2 separate regions of the Homo sapiens genome follow, and region 1 is linked to region 2. Evidence: promoter capture Hi-C in 16 types of primary human blood cells and fetal thymus (Javierre and others, 2016). All regions are on one chromosome and are shown on one strand. The core of a region is centred on a gene start or on the middle of the fragment in contact, and the rest is flanking DNA. Distances in the headings are between cores, read along the strand shown. Region 1 has its middle 26 kb from the start of MAT1A. Region 2 holds the start of PLAC9 (placenta associated 9).

Region 1 (6,742 bases), core at 2,713-5,212, 130 kb after region 2:
CACTAAAAATACAAAAATTAGCCAGGCAAGGTGGCGGGGGGTGCCTGTAATCCCAGCTACTCGGAGGCTGAGACAGGAGAATTGCTTGAACCCGGGAGGTGGAGGTTGCAGTGAACCGAGATTGCGTCACTGAACTCCAGCCTGGGCAACAGAGCGAAACTCTGTTTCAAAAAAAAAACAAAAAAGGTCCCCCCGCCCCGAACAAAGGAGAAAGGCAGAGCAGTCCCTGAGACAAGATGGGGCGCAGGCACACCAAGGCCCCCGGAAACCTGGTCAGAGTGTCTGTCCCAACTGGCCTGCCCTGTTCAGAGAGATGGAAAGCTGGGGAGAGTCTTGATCTCTCGGGGGCTCTGAACGGCCTCCTGGTGAGGGATGGGGGTCCCTGAGCCCTGAGGCTTATTATCCCCCATGGGAACACACAGAACTCCCTGGAACCCCCTCCTCTGTCCACAGGGAATGCGCGAGCCACCTCTGCCCTCTACTGGCTGAATTAAAAACTGCAGCCAATTGAAGGATGGGCAAATAAATGTCACACATCACTCTCCCTGTTCATTCATTCCTCATTCACGGAGAGCTGCTTTGTATCAGGTGCCAAGATAGGACGGGAGGCATAATTTTAATTCTCTGTGTCTCCAAGGCTGTATCTGCATGAATTCTCCTGTACTTCCCCTGCTTCCCAAAGGCCTGGTCTGACAGGAACAGTCTTCATCTTTTTTCAGGGCTGTTCTAACTGTCTCATCCTCATTTGTCCACAGAGGCCAGCTCAGTTCTGTGCCCCTGGAGAAGGCTGATGTGAAGCACTATCCATTGCTGAGCACTTGCTAGGTCCTAGGCACTAGCTAGACCCTTTCTGTCTACCATATCCCTCCCAAGCTCACTGCAAGGCACGGTCCATCTTCATTCCCTTGTAACAGCTAGGGAAACTGGGGCTCAGTGAGGTTCCACAGCTTTTCAGAAGTCGCATGGCCTGAAGATTCTAGAGCCTGCTTCAAACCTTGTTCCCCCTGACCCCAGAATCTCTGTTCAGGTTTCCCTGAAGATGCCAGAGTGTGTTCGGTCCACAATGACCACAGTTACGGACCAGGCCCAGCCTGGTCAGGCTCACCTGGCCTTTCACACTGCAAGGTGGACCTGGTCTGAACCTCAGGTCCTAGGACTGCTCACTATATCACCCTGAGGATCCAGCCTTGCTTTTTACCTATAAGGTGTGCATATCTATCCCTGGGCAGGCTTGATCCTGGCTCAGCATGGCATCCCAACCCCTAGTCCTCAAGCTGCAGACACCCCAGCGCTTCGCCCAGGCTGCCCTGAGGCCTTTAGCACACGCATTGTACAGATGGTGATGACACTGGGGCAGGCTTTTTACCCCAAATGAAGAATCTGAGGGCCCAGTAAGCCAGATGCGCTGGTGAAGAGGAATCCCAGCCTGTACCAACCTCTCATTGCCTTGAACAGCTAAGCTCAGTCCAGCTCTGGCCAGGACCCTTACAGCCAGGGGGCAGCAGCCCTGCTGGGCCCAGACCAGGAGCCACCTACCCTTTAGAATGTCAGCACAGTCAAACCATTCTTTTACATTTATGGAGACTGACAACTAGCCTCCACTGTTGTCTTATCACTGAGCAACACAGAAGCATTGGCAGAGAGGAAGTGTTCTGATATTTCAAATGTTTCTGGTGGTCGAAATGCTCCCAGATAATAGCATAGTTTTGGAAATAATGGACTACATCATAAAATTAAAATTAACTCCTTCTGTTTTCTAGAACTTATAATGAGAATAATTTAAATAACCATTATTTACCAAATTTTATTCATATATGTATAATACTATTGATGTATCATTTGAGGAAAAGTAAAGCACATATAAAAGAGGCTTTTAAATTAAAAACAAATATAAGGGACTTTTAAAAGTTTGTGGGAAAATGAAATTAAAAGACAAGAATAAAAAATATAAACTTTATTTCTCTCAAGTTCTATCAAGGTCAAGACACTTTTGTAAGTGATGATATCGTCCATTTTGTCCATCTCCAAAGAACTGAGGATCCTGGGAATTTAACCATGTCAAGGCAGTCTTTTTTACATTATTAAATGGAGAAAAACGGGTCTCCTTTAAATAATTTCTTAAGATTAGGAAACAAAAAGAAGTCATAAGGAGCCAAATCAGGACTGTAAGGTGGATACCTAGTGATTTCCCATTGAAACTCGCAAAATTGACCTTGTTTGATGAGAGGAATGAGCAGGATCATTGTCATGATAGAGAACTCTCTGGTGGAGCTTTCTTGGGCATTTTTCTCCTAAAGCTGTGATTCTCTCAAAACACTCGTAATAAGCATATGTCACTGTTCTTTGGCCTTCCAGAAAGTCAACAAGCAAAATGCCTTGAGCATCACTGAAAATTGTTGCCCTGACCTTTGCTCTTCACCTGTCTGCTTTTGCTGTGACTAGGTCACCTCTGCTTCTTGGTAGCCATTGCTCTGATTGTGCTTTGTCTTCAGCATTGTACTGGGAAAGCCAAGTTCCATCTCCTGTTACAATTCTTTGAAGAAATGCTTCAGGATCTTAATCCCACTTGTTTAAAATTTTCATCTAAATCTCCCCTCCTGTCTGCAGTTGATCTGTCCATGGTGTTGGGTCTTTTTCTGCTGTTCATCATTGATCCTCTTCAATTATGGCATGAAGAAGATGAATATTTTTCCTTACAAATTGATATGGATGGTCTACCGCTGTGGACTTCATCTTCCACATAATCTTGTGGTTTTTTTTTGTTGTTGTTTTTTTTTTGAGATGGAGTCTTGCTCTGTCACCCAGACTGGAGTGCAGTGACATGATCTCAGCTCACTGCAACCTCTGCTTCACGGGTTCAAGTGATTCTCCTACCTCAGCCTCCCAAGTTGCTGGGATTACAGGTGCATGCCACCATACCCAGCTAATTGTTGTATTTTTAGAAGAGATGAGGTTTCACCATGTTGGCCAGGCTGGTCTCAAATCTCTTCCTTTCTTAAAATGTGTTTTCCATTTGTGAACTGCTGATTTTTTTGGGGGGGGGGATGTTGTCCCCATAAACTTTTGGTAAAGCATCCATGACTTCACCATTCTTCCACCCAAGCTTCACCATGAATTTAATGTTTGTTTTTACTTCAATTTTCACAGAATTCATGTTGCTCTGGTAGGTGCTCTTATCAAGCCAATCTCTGATCCTTCTCAGTGCCTCAAACTAGACCCTATTCAGAAATATTATAACAAGTTAGTGTGAGTTTATTTTGGTGTAAAAAAAATTTGAAGTCCATGCACAGTTTTTTCATAATACACATTTTCCATGAACTTTTTGAAGCCCCCTCATAAATAATTCAAAAATACATTTGGGAAAATTTGAGAAATTATGTAGGGCCTGGTGGTAATTGGGCATTTGGACTGGCAGGATCATGTGGTGGCTCAATGAGAAGCCAGAAAGCAACTCTTTCCCATTTTCTGGGTGGGGGCTCCAGCCCCTGAGTGGGGATAAGGAGGAAAGCAGCCCTTCATGGAAGCTGGCTCAGGAGTTCACCCAGGCTTCCTGGAGAAGGGGACAGAAGAGGATGTCTCCTTCCCATGAACTCCACATTTGAGTTCACTGGAAACATAGGCTCTGGGAATGGAGGGGAAGAGGGCAGAGGAAAGGCTGGCAGCTGAGGTGGGGTATAAAGGGAGGGGAGTGTCAGAGGAGGCTGCGTCCACGCCTGGAGGTCAGAGGGCAAATGCCCCCAATCACGCTCCATCTGGGTTATCAGCTGCTTGAGGATCCATGTCCAGAAACTCGGGGAATCACTGTGTCCGTTTTCCTTGCCTCGGGACTGTGCCTCTTGTCTGGAGATGATGAGGTTTCTTTCAGCCTCCCATGCTCTCCACCAATGATCATGAGTTTCCATTCGAGACACAGAATCTGGCTTTGAGAATAAGAAACAGTTCCCTCCAGCTTTTCTTCAAGAGCCTCAAGTCACCTTCTGTAACTCCAGATCACAAGCTGGACCCATCCAGGGCAGCAGGCACTCCTGGGCTTTGACCTCCTCTGTCTCGAGGTGAAACTCGGTGAGGGTTTTACATTCCACTGAACTACTGCTGGACTGCAGTGGCACGTCCCTGATCTCTGCACAGAATGTCTTTCATCCCCTGGTTAAACAAGTCTGTCAAAAACAAGAGAACTTTCACCACACGCATACCATGACACCCTCACCACCTCCCAGGGTGATCCAGGCCGAGCAAAACTTGTGCTCACCTGCTTCTGCCTCAAGCTCCATGGAGTCTGCTGGGTTCACCAATAAAGCAGCTCACGCGAGGCTGAAGGTCCTCCCCCATTTCCCAGGCTGCTGCAGAGCTTCTTGCAGCCACCATGGCCAGCTGGGCCGAAACACTGAGACCACTGACCACGGTCTGCCCAGAACCACACCCGTGCCTGGCAACAGGGCAGACTATCACTGGAGAGGCGTGGGGGCACAGCGACAATAGAATCACACCCTCCACCCTGCCCTCTGCTGAACCCCCTCCTGTGGCCCCAGAGCACTCTCCCCATCCTGAGCGCTCCCTGTTCTCTCTGCCTGGAAGGCTTCCTCCGGCTGCTGGCGTGGAGCACATATGTCCACACAAAATAACTGCACTCCTTACCGCAGGCCCCAGGGGTCCGGGGCGGGCCTGGGGCGGCTTGGTTCTCAGTGGAAGGAGGGAAGGAATGCCGCGGAAGGAAGGAACAGGTGAGTGAGTGAGTGAGTGAGTGATGAGGCCCAAAACCATCCCTTGCCCTTCCTCAGAATTCACACTTTCTTGTTCTCTCTTGTCAGTTGCTTCCCTAAGGAAAGCTTAAAATCCCTGTCCACAAAATACCTGAAATATATAATTAAAAATATACATGTATATATTATATAATTTTAAATATTTAACAAATTGAAATAAATGCAAATCTATACACTGATAACATCAGGTGATCATATAACACTAAAATTCATCATTTTGGACTACAATGAAAATCTCAAAAATGTGTTTGGAAAGTACAAATAATAGAGATTATTTTCTATTAATAACGTGTCAATGAAACTAGAAATGAGTGAAAAATTGAGGAAAAACAGCCACATAGGAATTTTATGACTCCCCCATAAGCCATTTTGGATCAAAAAGCCACCAAAACCAACATTCAGTTCAGAAAGTTAAAAATGGAAAAGAAACACAAGGAAAGCAGAGAAACAGAAATGAGATCAAAACGAATTAAAATGTCTTAGAAACTGTGAAGGCTTTGATGCAAAAATCCAAAAACAAAAAAAAATGGCTTCTTTCCTTTCTTTTAAGAGAGGAGCAGAAATATACAATTAAAGATGAGATCAAACAGAAAACCAAAGACATAGAAGAGAACTAAGTTCAGAGCTGCTTTGTAGAGCTCAGTGCTAGAGGTGGAGAGAGCTGGCCATGCCTGCTGGGAGGGGCGGGGCAGCCCAGGAAGTGGGAGTGGGGTCGGCCTGGTGGGGGTTGGGAGGTGGGGCCCTGAAGCTGCTGCTGGGCTACTTTTCGCCCAAGGGTGAAGATGGAACAGCCCTGGGTTGTCTATACAGGTCGCGGCCTCCACCTCATCCCACCCCACTTACTCTCCCGAGGAGGGCATGGATACCATGCCAGGGGGCCTGAAGAGGGTTGCAGAGCCCTGGAGGAGGCCAGGGCCAGGGGCTGCCACGGGAAGTGGAAGGCAGTGGCCCCCACTCCTCCCAGAGAGGCTTCTGGGAAGCCTGCACAGAGCCTGGGAGTCCAGGGCTGCCCCTCCTGCTGGAGAATACACTGTTCAGAACTAAAGGAACAGCGGGATCCCAGGACTTCACAGCCCGGGAACAGTCCCTCCAGAGCAGCGGGAACCAGGCAGTGTCCTGGGCAGATCTCGAGGAAGTGGAGGGAGATCCAGCCGGCTCCCACTCTTAGCTCCCATCCTGCCCACGGACACAATCTGCTCTCTGAGTGGGTGGTCCTCCAAAGTGTCTTCCCCTGCCAGAGCCTGTTTCCTCCTGGTCACTTGGGATTCTGACAGCCTCCGAGGAAAGGAATTCCTGTCCTCTTAGGCTGTTGTGACTGGCTCCGCAGTTGCAGTCTTGGCCTGTGAAGGAGGGGGCTCCTCCCAGCCAGGCCTTGTGTCCCAGGGCCTTTCTGTGGGCACTCCTGCAAACACCCCAGAGGCAGCCACCTCAACCCTGGGGCAGGAGAGAAGCCCTGCTTTGGTGGCCCAGAATGGATGCTTCCCTAAGATCCACCCACCCCATCCCCCAGTCCATTCAGCACACGCTGACCTTGCCCTCCTGGGGTTCTGTCCCCTAGGCCTGGGAGCAAAGCGATTGTCTCTATCTTGATGCCACCTCTGACCGCAAGGTCAAACTAGGCAGACATGACATTTACATTTCAAGAAGAACCATATTTTCATCCAGAAAGTCTGTACCAAGTTATACCGATCAACTGTGTTTGGGGATATCTATTTCCTTATATCTTTGCCAGCCCTGGATTTTAAAAACCTTTTTCTTTTTCTTTTTTTTTTAAAATTTTTTATTATACTTTAAGTTATAGGGTACACGTGCACAACGTGCAGGTTTGTTACATATGTATACATGGGCCATGTTGGTGTGTTGCACCCATTAACTCGTCATTTACATTAGGTATATATCCTAATGCTATCGCCCCCCACCCCACAACAGACCCCGGTGTGTGATGTTCCCCTTCCTGTGTCCAAGTGTTCTCATTGTTCAAT
Region 2 (6,567 bases), core at 2,434-4,933:
GGAGGCCTGTTTAATTTCATCAAATATGGTTTCAGTATTTATTGAAATTATATGTCTGTTTTGCATTTTTGTTTCCTTGACCTTGTGACAGACATGATGTAGAGAGATTTTCCCAGAACTCCCCTCGGAAATGAGTAGCTAGCCAACTACTTTATGTTCAAAGTAGTGGTAAAAGGATGGACTAGGCAATAAAGAGCATTAGGACATTTAGATACCCATTTAGGGAAAAATTTAAGTTTGATTCCTTCCTTGCAACCACATAAAAATTCTAGATGGATTAGACATTAGACCTTGAGAAAACCTTAAAACTGTTTGAAGGAAACATAGAAAAATATCTTTACAGCCTTGATTCGAGGAATCATAAGCAAGTTGTAAACTCTATAAGCCATAAAAGAAAATATTGGGAGGCCGAGGCGGGCGGATCACGAGGTCAGGAGATTAAGACCATCCTGGCTAACACGGTGAAACCCCGTCTCTACAAAAAATACAAAAAATACAAAAAATTAGCCGGGCGCGGTGGCGGGCGCCTGTAGTCCCAGCTACTCGGGAGGCTGAGGCAGGAGAATGGCGTGAACCCAGGAGGGCGGAAGTTGCAGTGAGCCGAGATAACGCCACTGCAGTCCGGCCTGGGCGAAAGAGAGGGACTCCGTCTCAAAAAAGAAAAAAAAAAAAAAAAAAAAAGAAAAGAAAATATTGAGAGATTTGGCTACCTAATATTTAAAACTTCTGAATGATGAAAGACACCACCAAGAAACTTAAATATAATGGAAGGCTGGAAGAAGACATTGCCAACATATATAACAGGCATTGCATTAATAATCAGAGTATATAAAGGAAAGGGAGGAAAATAGAAAAAAGTAATCGAAGAAGCAAATAAAGCTTAACCTCACTCATAACAAGTAGCATGTAAATAACAATAACAACAAGGTAACATTTTCCATCATCAAGCTGTCAAAATTTTAAATAATAAATATCCAGTGTTGGAGAATGTAGGTGACTGATAGGTTTACACTTCAGGTATCTCCAATCCAGAAGGGTTTTTTTTGTTTTTTTGTTCTGTTTTGTTTTTGAGACGGAGTCTCACTCTGTCACCCAGTGCAGTGGGTGACACTGCAGGAGTGCAGTGGCGCAATCTCGGCTCACGGCAAGCTCCGCCTCCCGGGTTCATGCCATTCTCCTGCCTCAGCCTCCCGAGTAGTTGGGACTACAGGCGCCCGCCACCACGCCCGGCTAATTTTTTGTGTTTTTAGTAGAGACGGGGTTTCACCATGTTAGCCAGGATGGTCTCAATCTCCTGACCTCGTGATCCACCCGCCTCGGCCTCCCAAAGTGCTGGGATTACAGGCGTGAGCCGCCGCGCCCAGCGCAGAAGTATTTTATGTAAATGGCGCCCCCTGCAGCCCAATTCCTACCTAGACTAACATGCTCAGGTGCACCTTGGAACAGCGCTGGAAGACCCCTTGCCCCTCCTGTGGGCTTAGTAACAATTTGGGGAACAGTTTTTGGCCTATCTGGCAAAATGTAAAAGGCCTTTGACGCAATGATTCCTCTTCCAGCCTTTCAGAAATATGTACATACAGGAATATGTACTACGTACATGAAGATATATGCAAAGGAATGTTTATTAAAGCTTATTTTATATTGGAGAGAAAAAGGAAGCAATCTACATGTCTGTCAATAGGGGACTGTTTGGATAAATAATGCTCCTTGTATCCATTCATGGGATATTTTAACTCTTAAAAGGAATGAAGTGGATTTATCTGTACCCACATAGACTGATCTCCAAGATTATTTTCTTTTATTTTAAGATGGAGTCTTGCTCTGTTGCCCAGGCTGGAGTGCAGTGGTGCAATCTTGGCTCACTGCCACTTCCGCCTCCTGGGTTCTGATTCTCCTGCCTCAGCCTCCTGAGTAGCTGGGACTACAGGCGCCCAACACCACGCCCTGCTAATTTTTTGTATTTTTAGCAGAGACGGAGTTTCACCACGTTGGCCAGGTTGGTCTCAAACTCCTGGCCTCAGGTGATCCACCCACCTCGGCCTACCAAAGTGCTGGGATTACAGGCGTGAGCCACTGCACCCAGCCAAGATTTAATGTTATGACTGAGATAAACATGAATGAAAGCAAATCTTCAAAATATCTATGACTTGATCTCATGTATATACATTTGTGTCTGAATATACATTAGGTAGATGGGGAATGCATAGACGTGGAACAGGCAGAGCCTACCAAGTTGAGGGGACTGGACCTGAATCATTGGACGGAGGGAATTCGTAACAGAAAAGACTTTCATGTTTTACTCTGTATACTTAATTACTTTATGCTCTACCGCAACAATAATGTATTGTATATGTTTTTGTGTGTGTGTGTGTTTTCTTAGTCTTAAATTCAAAATATAAGGTAGCCCACTGGCTCTAAGCTACAAGAATCCTTATGAGTTGGGCAGTTCTTTGACAACTTTTTTTCCCACCTGGCGAAACTATCAAGGAATGTCCTACCACCAAGCGTGAGAAATTTTTGGCATTCCTGAAATAAATTCTTCTTCTGAGCCAGCTCATGTGGGCATCATAATCTCCTTGAAGGCTTTTAAAAGATTTAGATCTGAGTCTGTCTCAGATTCTCGGGCTCAGAACCAGAATTTCTCCGTCTGAGGCTACTATCTTGCTCTGGAGGAGGGAGTGAGAACTGGATCACTGGTTAGCGTGGTAACTGTTTTGGACAATTGCATAGCCACAGCCAGGAACACAGAAGGCAGAGAGGCAGCCTTGATCTGCAAGAGCTCCAGGTAATCCCAACGGGGACCCTTGATGGACAAAGGCATTCTCCCAGGCTTGGTGATGAATGTGTTCCACTTACAGCCAGACGAGACACTCACTCAGGGCTCTGCAGCAGAGAAGTTAGAGCTACAGCTTTTTTGCTTTGTGTTTTTACTAAAACTTAATTTGTTGTTGCACTTGTTGGATGGGCATGTCCCATAGGGGAAGTTTCCACTACTGTGCTCTAAACTTTGGGCTGCTTGTACCATCTTACTTATCCCCTCATTAATAATGAATTGAATAAAATCTTTAGTATATGCTAATTTCATATCTTTGCGAGAGTTACGATTTTACCTTTTCTTTTTAAAATTACCTTTTCATATTTCTATCACTCCCTTACCAGAGCAGTGAGTTTCTGGGTCTCCCTCTTAGGGGCAGACACTGTTCCATGTAATTAGAATTAATTTCTTGTTCGTAGGTAGACAGAGAAAAGCTGCCAAACTCCCAGGAGACAGGGGTTCAGATCCTGTGCTATGGCTGAGAGTGATGCCGAGGAAGACACTTCCCTCCGAGTCTTAGTCTGCCCGCCTGTGAAACTGGCTCGTAACAAACCCCTGACCCCAGGCTCGGTCGCCTTGAGCCCAAGACCTCACCCAATGCCCCCCGCCCCGCCTTCCCTCCCGGGCTCCCAGGAGGTGCGGGGACTCGGGGGGCGGCCCCTTCCTCGGGAGGCGCCCAGGTGGCACGTCGGTGCCTCAGCTCCCGGGGTCTCTGGGCTCCGCGCTGCCCACGGGGTGCCGAGGGGCCTCTGGAGGGGGCGGGTTCTCTCGAGCCAGAAAGTCCGGAGCCGCCCAGGAATTTTGGCTCGAACTGAGTGCATTTCCTCTCGGGCCGGCCGGGTGCGATCCGGGAAGGGCGGCTGCGGGCAGACGCGGCGCTGCGCTCGGCCAGGCCGGCACCATGCGGCCCCTGCTCTGCGCGCTGACCGGACTGGCCCTGCTCCGCGCCGCGGGCTCTTTGGCCGGTGAGTGGGGCGCAGGGCGCGGCAGGGGACCTGGAGCCGGGGAGACCCGCAGATGGCGAGGAAGGAATGAGCGAGAGAGACGGAGAGAGAGCTGGACACAGCAGCGAGATGGACAGAGAGGCAGATGCAGGGAGGGAGGGATGGAGAGAAAGATTGAGAGGAAACAGACTCAGAAAAAGGCAGAGAAGTAGAGCAACGGAGAGATAAAGGAGATAGGGAAGAATACACAGTGAAAAGGAAAAAGGAGAGGCTGAGACAGAAAGAGGCTTCCCCTGAACAGATATGAACTAAGATAGAAAGAAAAAGGAGTTTGAGAGACAAAAGAGAAGAAGGAAAGAGAAAAAGTGATTAAAATGGCAAGGGGTGGAGGGAGAGAGGATATTGAAGAAAAGAGAAAGATTTGAGAGAGACCAAAAAGGAGAGAGAGGGAAGCTCGATGCCCGGAGTAGAGCTGGCAAGAGAGAAGGAGCCAGGATCTGGAGTGGGAGGTCACAGCTGCTGGGTGGGGCAGCCCCGGAGGCCAGCTCCATCTCAGAGGGCCTGTGGAGGCTCAGGCCTGGCTTTATAGGACATTGCATAAGAAGCCACACTCCAAAGGATGAGTGACCCAGGCTAGCCCAGCACAGCCTTAAGGAACCAGGCAGTCGGGCCCAGGAGAAAGGCCACCGATTCACCTGCCAGGTGGCCTCAGGTGGATCTGCAGTCAGTGAAGAAGTCAGCCTCCCGGTTTCCAGGGAGCTTCTCTGGGAAACTGAGCTATGTTGGGTGGAGATGGGGGACTGGGTGGAGGTGGAGAGCTGTGCGGAGGAGAGAGGCTGTCTGGGTACTCCATTAGCTGGGTTCCTTGCTTTTCACTGTCCGCTTTCTTCCCCTCACCTACCCCTCAGGCGGGCGGATCACAAGCTCAGGAGATCAAGACCAGCCTCGCTAACATGGTGAAATGCTGTCTCTATTAAAAATACAAAAAATTAATCGGGCGTGGTGGCACATGCCTGTAGTCCCAGCTACTCGGCAGGCTGAGGCAGGAGAATCACTTGAACCTGGGAGGCGGAGGTTGCAGTGAGCCGAGATCAAGCCACCGCAATCCAGCCTGGGTGACAGAGCAAGACTCAGTTTCAAAAAAAAAAAAAAAAGAAGAAGGAAAGGAGGAAAGTATTCATGTATTAGTGTAATTTCACACTGATTTCATATATTTTTGTGCATAATCTTTCAGATTTTAGATGATATATCTTAACTTTTGATTATGAAAACTTTTGGATACAAAAAAATACAAAGTAATAGTATGTGAAAGAATCATGTAATATACTTATCAACGCTGCTTCAAGAAGTATCAGTTCATGGGCAGTTTTATCTCATCTATAGCCTCCACCCTCTCTCCCCTCCCTGGATTATTTTAAAGGAAATCCAGGCATTGTATATTTTCTTTCTTTCTTTCTTTCTTTTTTTTTTTTTTTTGAGACAGGATTTCATTCTGTCACCCATGCTAGAATGCAGTGGCACAATCTCAGCTCACTGCAACCTCCGTCTCCCGGGTTCAACTGATTCTCCTGCCTCAGCCTCCTGAGTAGCTGGGACTACAGGCACGCACCACCACACCTGACTAATTTTGGTATTTTTAGTAGAGATAGGGTTTCACCATGTTGGCCAGGCTGGTCTCGAACTCCTGGGCTCAAGTGATCCACCTGCCTTGGCCTCCCAAAGTGCTGGGATTACAGGTGTGAGCCACAATGCCTGGCCTGGCATCATGTATTTTCATCTATAAATATTTCTTTGTGTACCTCTAAGAGATAAGCACTCTTAATAAACATAACTGCAATGCTATGATCATACTCCAAAAACTGTGTGTGATTGAATATCATTAAATATTCAATCACTGTTCAAATGTCCTTGATTGATTGTGTCATATCTTTTTGCAATTCATTTGTTTGATCCAAATAAGGTTACATACACTGCATTTGGTCAATATGTCTGTTAGATCTCTTTAAATATGTAAGTCTTCTCTCCCCTTTTTTTACTTAATTTTTTGTTTTTGTTGAAGAAACTAAGTTTGTCCTGTAAAGTTTTCCACATTTAGATTTTGCTAATTGCATCCCTTTTATGTCATTTAAATACCTCCACCCCTTATATTTTCTATAAATTGAGAGCTATCTCTAGCACGTCCAACTTCCAACCTTGGTTTGTTTGTTTGTTTATTTATTTATTTATTTATTTGAGATGGAGTCTCGCTCTGTCTCCCAGGCTGGAGTGCAGTGGTGCGATCTCCGCTCACTGCAAGCTCCGCCTCCCGGGTTCACACCATTCTCCTGCCTCAGCCTCCCAAGCAGCTGGGACTACGGACGGCTGCAACCATGCCCGGCTAAATTTTTTTTGTATTTTTAGTAGACATGAGGTTTCACTGTGTTAGCCAGGATGGTCTCGATCTCCTGACCTTGTGATTTGCCCGCCTCGGCCTCCCAAAGTGCTGGGATTACAGGTGTGAGCCACTGCGCCCGGCCTTTTTTTTTTTTTTTTTTTTTTGAGACAGAGTCTTGTTTTGTCATCCAGGCTGGAGTGCAGTGGTGCGATCTCAGCTCATCACAACCTCTGCCTCCTGGGTTCAAGCAATTCTCGTGCCTCAGTCTCCCAAGTAGCTGGGATTACAGGTGTGCACCACCACACCCAGCTAATTTTTGCATTTTTTAGTAGAGACGGGGGCTGCGGGGGAGTTTCACCATGTTGGCTAGGCTGGTCTCAAACTCCTGACATCAAGTGATCAGCCTGCCCCGGCCTCCCAAAGTGCTGGGATTA

The links. Contacts are between HindIII fragments. The CHiCAGO score rates a contact against its expected background, and 5 or more counts as called.
Region 1: a fragment that was not itself captured here is called in contact with the fragment with the promoter of PLAC9 in region 2 in 1 of 17 cell types (M1 macrophages); the score reaches 5.6 in M1 macrophages.

Annotation. Positions count from the first base shown.
Region 1 is chr10:80,260,352-80,267,093 of GRCh38, forward strand. No RefSeq gene overlaps it. Among named protein-coding and RNA genes, the nearest start is that of MAT1A, 26 kb to the right of the region's middle. RefSeq lists enhancers at 3,943-4,474, 4,475-5,005. The HindIII fragment of the contact is 1,723 bases long and covers 3,102-4,824 here.
Region 2 is chr10:80,129,047-80,135,613 of GRCh38, forward strand. PLAC9 (placenta associated 9) reads left to right here and starts at 3,684. Exons shown (of 4, transcript NM_001012973.3): 1 at 3,684-3,780. The coding sequence starts at 3,717. The HindIII fragment of the contact is 6,415 bases long and covers 1,629-6,567 here.